2 separate regions of the Homo sapiens genome follow, and region 2 is linked to region 1. Evidence: promoter capture Hi-C in 16 types of primary human blood cells and fetal thymus (Javierre and others, 2016). All regions are on one chromosome and are shown on one strand. The core of a region is centred on a gene start or on the middle of the fragment in contact, and the rest is flanking DNA. Distances in the headings are between cores, read along the strand shown. Region 1 holds the start of EML2 (EMAP like 2). Region 2 holds the start of FOSB (FosB proto-oncogene, AP-1 transcription factor subunit).

Region 1 (2,656 bases), core at 102-2,601:
CCTCGTCTTTACTAAAAATGAAAATAAATTAGGCCTGGCGCGGTGGCTCACGCCTGTAATCCCAGCACTTCGGGAGGCCTAGGCGGGTGGATCACAAGGTCAAGAGATCGAGACCATCCTGGCCAACATGGTGAAACCCCCTGTCTATTAATAATACAAAAATGGGCGTGGTGGCGCGTGCCTGTAGTCCCAGCTACTCGGGAGGCTGAGGCAGGAGAATCACTTCAACCCGGGAGGCGGAGGTTGCAGTGAGCTGAGATCGCGCCACTGCACTCCAGCCTGCTGACAGAGCAAGACTCCGTTAAACAAACAAACAAAAAACAAAAAACAAAAAACAAAAAAAAAAAGAGAGAGAAAGAAAATAGCCGGGCGTGCTGGCCTTCGCTTGTAGACCCAGCTACTTGGGAGGCTGCGGCAGGAGGCTCACTTAAGCCTAGGAAATTCGAGGTTTCAGTGAGCCATGATCACGCCATTGCACTCCAGTTTGGTCGACAGAGCCACACCCTGTATCAAAAACAAAACAAAACAAAAATCACCCTAAGGCTGGAGTTATGGTGCAGTGGGCGTGGTCAGCGCTAGGAGGCCACGCAAGGGCAAGACCAAGGTCAAAAGCTGCACATTTCAACTCTGCTCAAACATAGCAAACACAAATACAGCGTTGTGTATACTCCAGGCACTTCCCAATAATTAACCAATTTCACCCTCGCAACTACCCCCGGGAGGTGTGAGTACTCTTATTTATTTATTTATTTTGAGACGGAGTCTTGTTCTCGTTGCCCAGGCTGGAGTGCAATGACACAATCTCAGCTCACTGTAACCTCTGCCTCCCGAGTTCGAATGATTTTCCTGCCTCAGCCTCCCAAGTAGCTGGGATTACAGGCGCCAGCCACCACGCCAGGCTAAGTTTTGTATTTTTAGTAGAGACGGGGTTTCACCACGTTGGCCAGGCTGGTCTTGAACTCCTGACCTCAGGTGATCTGCCCGCCTCGGCCTCCCAAAGTGCTGGGATTACAGGCATGAGCCACCGCGCCCGGCCGGGTACTCTTATTATCCCCATTTTTTAAATGAGGAAACCGAGGCAGAGGTTGGACGACCTGTGTACACTGCTAGGAATTAGCAGAACTGGGGTTTTAACTCAAGCAGGCGCGCTCCCGAGTCCATGTTCTCAACCACTCTCCCCCACCCACCCCGAAAGAACCTGGGATCGGGAGTCCACAGCCCGGGATGTGTGACCCGGTGGGACCCTCCGGCTCCAGGGGTGGCTGTGGAGGGCGGGGCAGGGGCGCGGCGGCCCGGGCGCCTCCCAGGGCCGGAAGCGGCAGAGCCGGTCCCGGCTCCACCCCCGGCCCCGAAGCTCCGCCACCCGCCGCCATGAGTAGCTTTGGAGCTGGGTGAGACCCTTTCGCAGACCACCCCCCATCTCCTCTCCGCGCTCCCGGGGCTTAGATCTCAGGTTTCACCCAACCCCTGGGACCCAGACCGGCGTGGGGACACGCCCCTTCCCTTAAACTCTCCCCGTTTCTCCCTCTGCTTGACGTTTGGTGTGCTGGGGGAACTGCGGGTGGGGGGCGCTGGGGAGCACCTTGCTGATTAGGAGGGAAGGGTCCTTGGTGACTCCCTTCTTCCAGGATCGCGTCCCTGCCACTTCGTGCTGTGTGATCTTTGGCGATCACTGCCTCTCTGGGCCTGTGTCTTAGGCTCTGCAAGATCAACCGAGCAAAGCACACGGCCTGCAGAGAGGCAGCGCTCTGCCCCTTACTCGGCCCCGTTTTCATCGGAGACCTCCGGGGAGCGGTGGGGGTGGAGGAATGGTTTCTCCCCTTTTCTGAACTGAATACTAAGACCCTTTTTTTTTCTTTGTCCTTTCCTGACAGCAAAACCAAAGAAGTTATCTTCAGTGTGGGTGAGTGGGGAGATGGGGAAGGGCTCGGTGGAAGCTTGCTTGTTGGGGTGACAGGCTGGAGCCAGAGGTCAGGAGTCTTGGCTACTGGGTCTTTGCCTCTCTGGCCTCAGTTTCCCTGCCTTTAAAAAAATAAATAAATAAAGCTGGAAGAGGAGAGGGAATAGGGATGGGGCTGGTGTCAGTGCCTGACCTCTGGGGGTGTCCTGGCAGAGGATGGCTCCGTGAAAATGTTCCTGAGGGGCCGCCCTGTGCCCATGATGATCCCAGACGAGCTGGCACCCACCTACAGCCTGGACACACGCTCGGAGCTGCCTTCTTGCCGGCTCAAGCTGGAGTGGGTGTATCCTTTTGCTGGAATCTCCTTGGTGCTCCCATCCCCCCAGGAGGAAATAGAAAGGCGGTCAAGGCAGCTCAGGCCTGTAATCTCAGCACTTTGGGAGGATCGTTTGAGGCCAAGAGTTTGAGACCTGCCTGGGCAACACACAAAACAAGCACAGCACGTTCAAGGGCTATGTGGCCAGAGTGGGATTGGTGCATTTGAGCAAAAAGAGTTGGGAATGGCTGGAAGCCCGGGCTCTGGAGTCTGACAGAGATGGGTTCAAACCCCAGTCCAGCCCGTACCTGGCCGTGTGACCCTGGAAAAGTCGTCTTGACTCTGAAAAATGAATTTTATGATCTCAGGTCCATAGACCTGTGAAATAATGTGTAAAGGTACTGAGCTCATAGTATGTGCCCCATGCACAGGGACTGATA
Region 2 (2,656 bases), core at 112-2,611, 170 kb after region 1:
GGCCCCGGCGTTCCAAAATAGAACGCTCCCGGGACGTCAGGGGCGGGGCGGACGAAGGGGGCGCCGCGCGCCGTGCGTGCCCCGCGTCAGACGGAGGATTCCAGCGCGTCAGCCGTTACGCACGGGTCCCCCGTTACGTCTCCGCGCAGGAGGCGGAGGCAGCGCGGCTGAGGGTTCGAGGCCCCTCTTCCCGATGGGTGGAGGGCGACCCGGCACCGAAGTGGGCGCTCCGAAGGAGGAGGAAAGGAAAAGAGACTGCTGGAAGCTTCCCCGGGATTTCCCCCACCTGCCTAACTGCGCTAGCTTCAGGTCTGGGACCCGAGCAGGGGGCAGTCCCGGGGCCGGCTCAAAGTTCTCAGCCCCGCTACCGCATACACGTTGCATTGAGCAGCGCATTACCCACCCCACCCCCACCTCGCCCCAAAGCCTACCCTCCCTGCCGCGTTCCCTCCTTGCGCTCCACGCACGCAACCAATTGCAAACATCTCCCGACTCTTTGCAGTTTGCAAAGTGCGCTGTGAGCCTTTTCCATCTCAGATCTAGGGTTCTGATGCGCCTTTTTGTGGGGGTTGGGGTTTATTCTTTTCACCCTTGACTTAAAAAATAAAACCTACAAAGCAGCACCCCTACTATCAAAAACTTACCTGGGAGGCGGCGGCGGTGGGTGGACTGCCGAAGGAGTCCACCGAAGACAGATATTGAGACTCGGCAGAGGGTGAGGAGCTGCACCGGGAGCCGGAGTCGTAGTCTCCGGGGAAAGCCTGAAACATTTCCCTGGGCACAGGGGGGCCCCTGTGACCACGCTGAGGTCGCCGGGAAGCCAAGGCTATGGCCGGGTTGGGGAAGTAAGGTGCAAGTCCGGGGTGAGCCGTGGGAGTCCCCGGTGAGCTGAGCGAGTCCTCAAAGTACGCTGTCCGGGGAAGCTCGGGGAAGGAGCAACGTCCCGTTCCAACAATGGCAAAGTTTCTGTGCAGTCTTCCTGCGGTGCCCAGGCCCCCACAGGATGCCGCTGTACCTCTTGAAAGTGCAGGCTCCGTAGGACCCAGGGGCGAGGGAGGGGTTGCTCCCCCAGGGGCAGAAAGCGCTGTCCCGCTGTACAGAATCAGCTTCAGCTACGGTCTCCTCCACGCGTCCGGCGGGTCCCACGGGGGGAGGGGAGTAATAAAGAAGACCAAAAAAAGTAAGTCGGTCCTCCAAAAGAAAATGAAGAAATATCTGGAAGAATCTTTCCAAAAACTTTCTCCCCGGAAAAAAAAAGATTAATGAAATTTCATAACCCCCAAGAAGAACCACAACAATCAAGTTTCCAAGTCTTGGTTCCGCGTGTCCCTGCCGTGGCCGTAGCTCTGAGTCTTATGAATGAAGCACAGACCCGCCAGCCTGTATTTATATGCCCGGGACCCGCCCCCCTGCTTACGTCACCCGCCCCTTGCTGGACAAACTTCCCCAAATCTCCGGCCCCGCCAAATCGAGTCCCGCACTGTCCAGCAAGAGGTCTGTTCTAGACTCGATCTGGTCACTTGCATGACCCTCGGGGCCCTGGGGGTCTCGGGGGTTGCGTTCCGGGCCACTCGGCGGGAGGGGATCCCGGCCCCGCCTTCCCGGAGTTCCTGTGACGCAATTAGCCATATAAGGAGCTCGGCCGGCGCGGCGGAGTGTTTGTTTGGTATCCTAGCAATGACGTCAGAGGGAATCCCTCGCTCGCTCGCGCGCGCGCCCGCGCCCCGCCCGCGCCTGCGCAGTGCAACGCCGCCCCGGGGGCTGGTAATAATAGGCGCTTAGACTAGCCCCGCAGGGACCCCGCTGACCCGGGCGGGGAAGACCCCAGCCTGCAGGTCCCCTTCACCTCTGGCGCCCCCACCTACCCTGTTCTACCGATGGTGCAGCGCCCCCATTCGAGAAGAAGAGCAGATCTCCAAAAGGAGACCCTGATTAGTGTGGTGTGGTCACGTAGGTGGGGAAACTGAGTCCCGAGCGGGCTGTGATGCTCAGGTGAAAGTGGAGGTAATGGAGGGATTCCGAGGCTCGTCCTGGTTTCTGTCCTGATTCGCTGTGCGAGCTTAGGAAATGTTTTCCCTCTCTGAGCTTTAGCTTTAATCTTCCCCGCTGGGCAAAGGATGTGTGTCTTGGACCCTGCTGGCCTTACAGGTCCGGCGTTTGGGAGGGATGCGGATTTGGAGGAGATGGGAAATGAAACTTAGAGAGAAGCCTCTCTTCTGATGGTGTTGGTAGCCTCTCCTTCCACCTTTTAATCCACCCGGAGACAAAGAATGTGTAAGAGGGAGGGGATATTATTATTAATTCTAATAATAATAATTAATGCCTTGTATTTGGCACTTGCCAAGCACAGCTCCTGTGCTACGCCTTTCAGTAGAAGATTTGTAATCCTTAAAACAGCTCTGGAAGGTTAAGAGAGAAAAATCTTCATTTTATAAAAGAAAAAAATGATACTCAGGGAGGTTAAATGACTTGCCCAAGATCCCATCACAAGAAATTCAAACTCAGAATTGTCAAACTCCAGATTTCCTACCCTTTCCATTTCTTTTCTGATTTCTGAGACCTGCCTGGTTGGATGAAACTCCCTGAAAAACCTGTGTCTGGGGTTTTTTTAAATGATAATGGCAATATTAGTAGCTTTCACTTGTCAGGTCTTTTT

What was found. The method cuts DNA at HindIII sites, captures the fragments that hold promoters and counts their contacts. A CHiCAGO score of 5 or more calls a contact.
Region 2: a contact is called between the fragment with the promoter of FOSB here and the fragment with the promoter of EML2 in region 1, in 14 of 17 cell types (erythroblasts, fetal thymus, endothelial precursors and 11 more). The highest score is 11.1, in erythroblasts.

What each region holds. Positions count from the first base shown.
Region 1 is chr19:45,638,092-45,640,747 of GRCh38, reverse strand. It overlaps EML2 (EMAP like 2), which reads left to right and starts at 1,351. Exons shown (of 19, transcript NM_012155.4): 1 at 1,351-1,391; 2 at 1,875-1,903; 3 at 2,114-2,243. The coding sequence starts at 1,372. MIR330 (microRNA 330) reads left to right here and starts at 1,661; the gene lies at 1,661-1,754. RefSeq lists silencers at 1,057-1,146, 1,167-1,446, 2,143-2,437 and enhancers at 822-1,673, 2,143-2,437, 1,674-2,525. The HindIII fragment of the contact is 2,349 bases long and covers 1-1,939 here.
Region 2 is chr19:45,466,701-45,469,356 of GRCh38, reverse strand. FOSB (FosB proto-oncogene, AP-1 transcription factor subunit) reads right to left here and starts at 1,361. Exons shown (of 4, transcript NM_006732.3): 1 at 645-1,361. The coding sequence starts at 770. RefSeq lists an enhancer at 359-1,260 and a silencer at 1,445-1,724. The HindIII fragment of the contact is 2,687 bases long and covers 268-2,656 here.